3 separate regions of the Homo sapiens genome follow, and all the other regions are linked to region 2. The links are contacts of gene promoters, found by promoter capture Hi-C in human tissues and cell types (Jung and others, 2019). All regions are on one chromosome and are shown on one strand. The core of a region is centred on a gene start or on the middle of the fragment in contact, and the rest is flanking DNA. Distances in the headings are between cores, read along the strand shown. Region 1 overlaps CLCA1 (chloride channel accessory 1). Region 2 holds the start of CLCA2 (chloride channel accessory 2). Region 3 overlaps ODF2L (outer dense fiber of sperm tails 2 like).

Region 1 (2,892 bases), core at 359-2,858, 50 kb before region 2:
ATCCTCAACCAATTCTCCTCCCTCATGGCTCCTATCCCATCAGACCTCAAGGTCTGCTTACTCCATCTCTGTCTTTTTTATTCATTCTCACCTTTCCAGGCCCATTGCCACTTACTCCTGAATTGCTGCAATAGTCACCAGATTGGCCTCCATGTCTCCATCCTTCAGGGTAAGTCCAACTTCTCAACATGGTGTACAAGGTCCCTGATGCCTCAGGCCTGCTCTTCTCTGCAGCCTTATTTCTTGCTGTTCTCCACTCCCTTCCCAAACTCTAGAATTAGGATGAATTCCTGAACTCCTTTTTTTCCTAGGTCATATCATGCTCTTGTTCAACTCTGGTCTTTTTTTACCTATGTTTCCTTAGCTTGGAATACTTCCTTCCCATCTTTGTCTGGATAACTCTTATTCTTCTTTGAAAATCAAGCTTCTATGTGCCTAGAAGCCTGCCCTGAAATCCTCATCTTAGGCCCAGTACTCCGCGTTTGCATTTCACCATCTCCCATTAGGCACTTACAATGATAAACAGTCATTGCTACTTACTTGCCAGTCTCCCACAATAGAAAATTGTCTCCATGAGGACAGACAATATGACTTCTTCACTGTCATATCTGGGCACATAGTGTCTAGAACTTAGCAGGCATTCAGTGATATTTGTTAAACTTGAGTGAATGACTTATGTACAGCTCAGTTTTTCTGGAATGTAAATTCCAAGGAAGGCTGAATTTGGAGGGTTATGTGAGGTGGGGCATTCTGTGGAAACTCAGTATCCCACACTAAGGATTGGGACTTTATTCTGTAGGTATTGGTGGTCTCTTTAAAGATGATTGTGAGAGAGTTGGAGTGGAGTCACAATACAGAAAGGAAACACTATTAAGGAATGGTTTTATATATGATCATGATGGCTGGAGTGGGCTCAGGAGTGGGATGAGGCAGTCAGGTCAATCAATTCAACACTTATTTGTTGAGTCATACATTGAGAATGTTCTGTTCCTGTTATGGAGGTGAAATGTGTTGTAGAACAACAAAGAGGTACGCTTGACACATCCTTTTGACCAGGTCTTTAAGCGCTCTAGTGTGTTTGGGGATGGGGCTTGGATAGCGTTCTTTTGTTTGCTTGTTTTCTGTGCCTTATATGTTAAAAAAAATCAAGCTGGTTCTAGGGGATCCAAATCTTTTTTGAGGTAAAGAAATCTAATGCTAGTTATTTAGTAAAGAGTCACATTTGATTCTTGGAAAGTACATTTTATATATATGTCATTACTTGTTTAATATTTCCTCCAATAATTGTTATATGTACCTCATATACAAATGATAAAGTTTATTTATCATTGGAGTTTTTTCTTTAGTTACATGTTTTTGAGAGATGAATTGCAAAGGTATTCTGTCTGCTACTCAAAGTGTGATCCACAGACCGGTAGAATCAACATCTCCTGTGAGCTTGTTAAAAATGCAGATTCTTGAGTCCCATCCCACACCTAATGAATGAGAATCCCCCCCCTTTTTTTTTTTTTGATACGGAGTCTCGCTCTGTCGCCCAGGCTGGAGTGCAGTGGCGCGATCTTGGCTCACTACAACCTCCGCCTCCCGGGTTCACGCCATTCTCCTGCCTCAGCCTCCCAAATAGCTGGGACTACAGGCGTCCGCCACCACGCCCGGCTAATTTTTTGTATTTTTAGTAGAGACGGGGTTTCACTGTGTTAGCCAGGATGGTCTTGATCTCCTGACCTCGTGATCCGCCCGCCTCGGCCTCCTAAAGGAGAATCCACATTTTAACAAGATTCATATATAATTTGAATGCACGTCTGAGAGCACTGCACATATACGCCATCTGGTGGCTATTGTATGAATTGCAGGTAGAAGATTTAATTCCGTTGTCTCCTTACATATCCATAGAAACTTAATACAAATTAAATTCTTTTACAGTTATAGTATGATGCTATAATAATAATTTACGAGAATTCAAAATACCGTATTTATACATGTATCTAAAGTAAATTAAATTCATAGCTGAGAAATGCTGGAAATTCTAAGTGAAATGCATGTTCTATTTTAAGTGAAAAATGCTATGATGTTTTATCTCTAATTGTTTGGCTTATACATGCTTACTCACAAAGATAATGCTAGTGTTGATACACTTTGAACATAAAATAGTTAAATTGTATGAGAAGTATGGTAGAATATTTCATACCTTGTGGTCCATATTCAGCTAACTTTTTTCCTGCAATGAAATCAGGAGTGAGGTGGATCCTTTCACCCTTCTCTCCACAGTTGCCCATCTGCTCAGTGTAGGGTTCATCATTACCTGGAGGAGTAGACTCAGCAACCAGAACATCAGCCTGAAATTTAAGAAAAAGTTTCTATCATCACAAAGTTTCAGCAAATGAATTAACCATATTCGTACTGGAGTAAGTTTCAAACAATCACATTTGATTCTAGAATATTTTGATTTTAAAAAATCTTGGTTACAGGAGAAAGTGGAATTTTAAAGAAGAACTTGATATTCTCACATTTTTGTAGGTCTCAAGTTTTGGTCTCACATAGTCAGCCTTTGTCTTCCATGTTTCAGGAATCAAAATGGCAACATTTTTGAAATAAAATCGCTTTCCTGTAGCTTCAAGCAGATACAGAGATGCCTGGGTCACCATGTCCTGGGAAGAAAAAGAAAACATACGTAACAATTGACTGAAAATAAATTAAATTATCAGTCATTCAAATTCACATCTGGATTTCACATTTTCAAAAACTTGTTATTTGTTAAGATGGGAAGAAGAAATATAGAAATACCTTTTAATAATAATAGCTAAGCTTTGAGAGCATTTACCAAATATTCTGTGTCACCGAGTAATCAGTAACAATGCAGACTCTGGAGACAGACTCTAATCCTGGCTGCAC
Region 2 (3,053 bases), core at 484-2,983:
CAGTCATATTTTTATATGCATGGTGGTTTATATTTCTGTCTGGACATGCATGTTTATTGCTCCTGACAGGATGGTAAATGGGTATAGTCATAATTGGAACTGTTCCCTTTGCAGCTCATCCTCAGTAGGATAAAACTAGTTCTTGATCCTCAACCAAACTTTTCAGAAAGTACTCCATAAGTTACAAAATAAAGAGATCTTCTGAGAAACTACTTAGGCTATGGCATTTGACTCATTTTTTACTGCACAATTTGCATTCATTTATTCTCATATATTTTGTTGATAACATTCTGCCCATTAATATTATTTGCATTGTTAATACTGATGATTTGTTTTTACTTAACTTCTCACTTTTATCGTTTGAGCACAGTATATTTTGGTGTTTTTTTTCCCCTTGAGATCATTGAATGAAATCCTGGATTCTTACCTTTTCATATGATTCTTGTTTTATTTTGCTGTTATTATTAGCTTTCCATGTGGCAGGTATTAAAATCTTTATATTTCTGAAAAATACTCTTCTCTTGGTAGCATTAAATAGGTAAAATGAAGCTTCAGTTATCATTTCCTACAGCCAGACAAAAGAAAAACTTACTTTACCACTTGTAAATCCTGTATGTTTTGGTTTTCTGGTATGCTTAAACAGTAATAAAAGACAATGAAATATTTTGAAGAGACCCATTTCTTTTAGAGAAAGCCCTAGACTTTGGGAAAACATAGGAGCAAATTTTTAAAAAAACTTTAAATGATTATATGGAAGATTTTAGGACACTAATTATATGTCTGTGCTTGCCTTCATAGTTTTCCCAATTTTGAGAAAGGCTTTTAAGCTTTTGTGGAACAAATCCTTTTCATGTCACACCTGTGGGCACATTCAAGACCACACCTTATGATGCTACTGATTTCACTAAAGCAATACTAAATGGAGGCTCTTACATCATAGAGCTATGATCCTCCCTTGCCATATTAAAGTAAAAATAGTCAATTATGTTACAGCACATTCAAGTGAAAAGAAATAATTTTGCTTTTTGGCCCACCGTGCAGACTCTCACCCTTTCTGCCTGAGAATTCTCACCCTCAGGATGGAATCTAGCAATATGATTTTAACAAGCATGCTCATTATCATGCTTATTCATCAGTTAAATATTCAATCTTTGTTGCCACAATGGGTTGTTATTTTTCTAAGTTGCTACCCCAAAAACAGTCATGTAGGAAAACAAAAGAGCTGAAATTAGTAGCAACCAACAATAACAAAATAGAGGGCTAGATCAACACTCTGTGAGCTGAGACTACACAGAATTAGATGAACAAACTGGCTTAGTTAGCCATAATCATAACGTTGTGGCGCTATCTTTTAAAAATGCTGTTCTCTGTATTACTCAAATACAAACCAGGCAGGGTAGTTAGCTTCTAAATAAGGCTACAGGTCTGATCAAATGGGATGCTAGTATCAATTTCATAATTTCCACTCACCTTAATGTTTGAGATGAGGTTCTGATTCTCAGGTACCTGAGGATTAATTGCAATGAGCAATCCATTATACCCATTGTCTTGAAGCTGTACTCCAGCTCCCAGGAATGGGAGTTCTGAACTTAAGGCAACCAGGAGAGTCACAAACTTCAGGTTGCAAATAGGACCTGCAATGCTCCTTTGGGTCATGTTGTAGAGAAGCCTCCAGTTCACTCACACTGAGCCTGCTGCATACATTGTGTCAGGTTTTCAATATGGATGCAGATGGTTTCTTCCTGAACTTGCAAGGTTTTAGAACACAAGATGAAGGAGGTGTCTTCTTTGAAAAGTCTGGGGTGGATCCATCTGGGACCTGCCTCTACAAGTCCTTTTCCTCCAGGCAATGCTACACTTGCCTGTTCTGTGGCTGAGCTGCCTCCTGAATCATGGTTGGGCAAGAAACATTCTGCCCTTCATTCATTTTATAACTTTTCAGAAAGAAGAGGGAAATAAGACCAAAGGAGCTTAAAAGCAGGAAATATGGGCTGGAAATCAGTATATCTGGACTGTTCAATCCACTTGCAGTAGAAACACAGAAGTCTATAGTGATTTTCCTCTCCTCATTTTTCATAACCTCCTCCATCAGTTGGCACAAGTACTTTCTACTGCCCTCAAGTCATTTTTCATTTGTTGCAAGATTTCCTTGCCTGTTTATTTTGAAGATTTAGAAATCCATTCTGCAGCCCAGTCCCTACAGCCCTTGGGTCAGATAGTCTGGGCAAGCTCTCAGCTGATGGCTGGAGGTCAGATATCAGATATCCCCCAGAGAGGGCCAACTGCCAGGAACTTGGGTGCCTGTGCAGCCCTTTCCCTCTGGCCTTGCTACCTTTTCTCTCTGCCTCAGGAAGAAGAATAGATTTCTCCTTCAGCTCTCTCCTAAGGGCAAGGCCCTGCTTCAGTCAACCCTCCATTTCTCCAGGACCAAAAACAGGATCTAATATATAGTAACCATCGCAAATATTTTATGACTGATTCATAATACCTGATATTTACCTCATGCTTTAAAGTTTACAAATGAACTCATTTAAATATCAATACTCTGATGCAGGTATAATTTGTACTTTTCAAATGAAAATAATGAGTCTTGGAAATTCTGATTATGAAAATTAGCCAATGAGAGAAGAAACTAACATTTTTTGAGTGATGGATTTTATTATGCCTATTTTATGGGTGACAGAACTAATGTTCAAAAAAATCTAAGTAACTTGTTCAAGGTTGGGAGTATTATCATCGTACTAGAATGAACCAACTGACTCCAAATTCCACTGTTTTTCAATATATCATGTTCTCTCTTAGTTACTAAATTATCTTAGTAACCTCGTTTCTCCCTCTTCTTTGTGTTTAAGAATGCCGCACAGTGACATCTATTGTAAAACTAAAGAAAAAGTTTTATTCACAGCGTCAGAGGTCCACAGCAAGCAAAACCTGTGACTCTTCCCTGCTGTGGCCCCGTCTCGGAACATTTCTGGGGAGGGGAGTGTAGCATTTAGGAAACGGTCTGTCCCTGCTCTCAACAGGGATTTCACCAACATTGTCTGTTTTCAACA
Region 3 (3,037 bases), core at 208-2,707, 48 kb after region 2:
CTAATCAGAAAAACATTCAAGATATGACCTGGTTGATTCTGAAAGCTTTCAGTTTTATGCATTCACAGAGAGAAGGTTTGAAATTGGAACATACATTTAAAAGGGAAACAGAGCATAAAAGTTTGGAAAATTTGCAGCCTGCCCATGCAATAGAAAAGAAACACCCATTTTCTGGGGAGAAATTCAAGTGGTCTGCATAAATTGGCATAAATAATGAGAAGCCGAATATTAATGGGGAAAATGTTTCTGGGGTATGTCAGAGGTCTTCATGGCAGTCCCTCCCATCACTGGCCCAGAGGCCTAGGAGGAAAAAGTGGTTTTGTGGGCTGGGCCCAGAGCCTTGCTGCTTTGTACAGTCTTGGGACTTGGTGCCCTGCATTCTAGTTGTGGCTAAAAGGGGCCAATGCATAGCTCAGGCCATTTCTTCAGAGGGTGGATGCCCCAAGCCTTGGCAACTTCCATGTGGTGTTGGGCCTGTGGGTGCACACAAGTCAAGAATTGAGGCTTGGGAACCTCTGCCTAGATTTCAGGGGATGTGTGGAAGTGCCTGGATGTCCAGGCAGAAGTTTGCTGCGGGGGTGGAGCCCTTATGGGGAACCTCTGCTGGGGCAGTGTGGAAGAGAAATATGGGGTTGGAGACCCCACATAGAGTCCCATTGGAGCACTGCCTAGTGGAGCTGTGAGAAGAGGGCCACAAGTCCTCCAGACCCCAGAATGGTAGATGCATTGACAGCTTGCACCATGTGCCTGGAAGAGCCACAGATACTCAGTGCCAGCCTGGGAAAGCAGCTAGGAAGGGGGCTGTACCCTGCAGGCCATAAGGCTGGAGCTGCCAAAGACCGTGGGAGCCCACTCCTTGCATCAGCATGACCTAGATGTGAAACATGGAGTCAAGGGAGATTATTTAGGAGATTTAAGATTTAATGACTGCCCTGCTGGATTTTGGACTTGCATGGGTCCTGTAGCCCCCTTTTTTTTGGCCAATTTATTTCATTTGGAATGGGAACATTTACCTAATACCTGTGCCCCCATTGTTTCTTGGAAGTAATTAACTTGCTTTTTATTTTACTGGCTCCTAGGCAGAAGGGACTTGCCTTGTCTCAGATGAAACTTTAGACTTGGGCTTTTGGGTTAATGCTGGAATGAAGTAAGACTTTGGAGGACTGTTGGAAAGGCATGATTGTGTTTTGAAATGTGAAGACATGAGATTTAGGAGGGGCAAGGGGCAGAATGCTATGGTTTGGCTCTGCCCCACCCAAATCTCATTTTGAATTGTAATCCTTATAATCTCCACATGTCTAGGGAGAGACCTGGTGGGAGGTGATTGGATCATGGGGGTGGTTTTCCCCATGCTGTTCTCATGATAATGAGTGAGTTCTCGTGAGACCTGATGGTTTTATAAGGGGCTCTTCCCCCTTTGCTCCTCACTCTTCTGTCTCCTGTCGCCATGTGAAGAAGGTCCTTTCTTCCTCTGCCTTCTACAATGATTGTAAGTTTCCTGAGATCTTCCCAGCCGTGTGGAACTGTGAGTCAATTAAACTTCTTTCCTTTATAAATTACTCAGTCTAGGGTATTTCTTTATGGCAGTGTGAGAATGGAGTAATACACAAACCATATCAGTTATGTACATATTTTTACAATGTTTACATAAACATTGGAGTTCTGAAATAATTTAATTGTTGCTAATTTTTTTTTTAGAGCTTAGAAACCAAGATAGCCAAGTGGAACCTGCAATCAAGAATGAATAAGAATGAGGCTATAGTGATGAAAGAAGCAAGTAGGCAAAAAACTGTAGCTTTAAAAAAGGCATCTAAAGTTTACAAACAAAGGCTTGACCATTTTACAGGAGCTATTGAAAAGCTTACTTCCCAAATTAGAGATCAGGTATGTAAATGCATTCTTTTTAAAATTAAAAGATCTATTATGTACGTAGTTTATATAATTAATATCATGATGCTTAATATAGTAATTTTATTCTTTTCTTAATGCTGTTAATACCAGAAAAAACTTACACTTTTTGCTTTAATCTTTTACTTTGAAATATTACATAAAATGTCAAATTTTCATATTGAAATATATCAGCATTTCCTTGGGAACTTTACTTAAAGGAAATATTAAGTGTGTCCCCCCCGCCTCCACACACAAAAAAAGGTTCTATTGGCCAACTAACTAAGGGTAATACTTCATACATATTTCCCCTTGGGACATTGTGGTCTATGTTAGCAAATTAAAGGTTCTGAGAAGGCTTTCAGAAACAGTGGAATGAAGGGTATTGAACTAAGAGTTTCCCACACTTTTTTAACCACAGAGCTAGTCTTTTATGCACAAAGCAACTCTTGGAACTGGTTCTGAGGAACACTAGTTTGAGAAATGCTGATTTATGTTATTAGACCCTATGACTTTATTCAGTAATTAACCTAATTTAATCTCTGTAATACATTTAAAACCATGTGCTGACATAAACACACCAAGTAAAATATATCTTTGGTATAGTACAAATTTGAAAATGGCCTTAGTGCTTTGTTGTTTTTGATAAATTATTATATTTATTCAATTACTAATTAATAATTTTTTTAAAAAAGTCTCACTGATATCCTGCCTCTTAAGAACTTATGTTAAGGCTTATAGAATTATTAGAGGCTTTTAGAAATGAAAACAGACTTGTATAAAAAGTTTATGGCAAACAAAGTAGTATTTTGTTAACCTTGTGACTTGGGATAAGGAACTTAACCTCTTCAATTTCCTCATGTATAAAATAGGGCATCATAATACTCCCTATCTCATGTGTTTGTAGGGAGAGATAAATGAGAAAATATATTTTTGCATTGTCCTCCTTTCTGTTGCTGTAATGCATGAAGTTTTTTTCTTTGTTTTGTTGTTTTTCTTGTTTGTTGTTGCATCTGGCTTTAATATTCTTCCCTGGCTCACAATAGCTCTTTCTTTTTTTAATCATTCAGGTATCTTTTCAATTGACATCTCTTCAGAGAGGCCTTTCTTGACCATTTCTTTTGAAGTAGTTCTAAAACAATCATATCAA

Evidence for each region. The method cuts DNA at HindIII sites, captures the fragments that hold promoters and counts their contacts. A contact is called where the count stands out against the background at its distance.
Region 1: a contact is called between a fragment that was not itself captured here and the fragment with the promoter of CLCA2 in region 2, in 2 of the 25 tissues and cell types used here (lymphoblastoid cells and spleen).
Region 3: a fragment that was not itself captured here is called in contact with the fragment with the promoter of CLCA2 in region 2 in 1 of the 25 tissues and cell types used here (mesenchymal stem cells).

Annotation. Positions count from the first base shown.
Region 1 is chr1:86,473,173-86,476,064 of GRCh38, reverse strand. It overlaps CLCA1 (chloride channel accessory 1), which reads right to left. Exons shown (of 14, transcript NM_001285.4): 2 at 2,508-2,648; 3 at 2,189-2,336. It overlaps LOC124904210 (a long non-coding RNA gene), which reads left to right. Exons shown (of 3, transcript XR_007066206.1): 3 at 100-169. Among named protein-coding and RNA genes, the nearest start is that of CLCA1, 5.7 kb to the right of the region's middle. The HindIII fragment of the contact is 5,369 bases long and covers 1-2,892 here.
Region 2 is chr1:86,422,851-86,425,903 of GRCh38, reverse strand. CLCA2 (chloride channel accessory 2) reads right to left here and starts at 1,733. Exons shown (of 14, transcript NM_006536.7): 1 at 1,471-1,733; 2 at 428-565. The coding sequence starts at 1,656. The HindIII fragment of the contact is 8,393 bases long and covers 1-3,053 here.
Region 3 is chr1:86,375,080-86,378,116 of GRCh38, reverse strand. ODF2L (outer dense fiber of sperm tails 2 like) reads left to right here. Exons shown (of 17, transcript NM_001366781.1): 8 at 1,699-1,884. Among named protein-coding and RNA genes, the nearest start is that of MIR7856, 19 kb to the right of the region's middle. The HindIII fragment of the contact is 4,978 bases long and covers 1-3,037 here.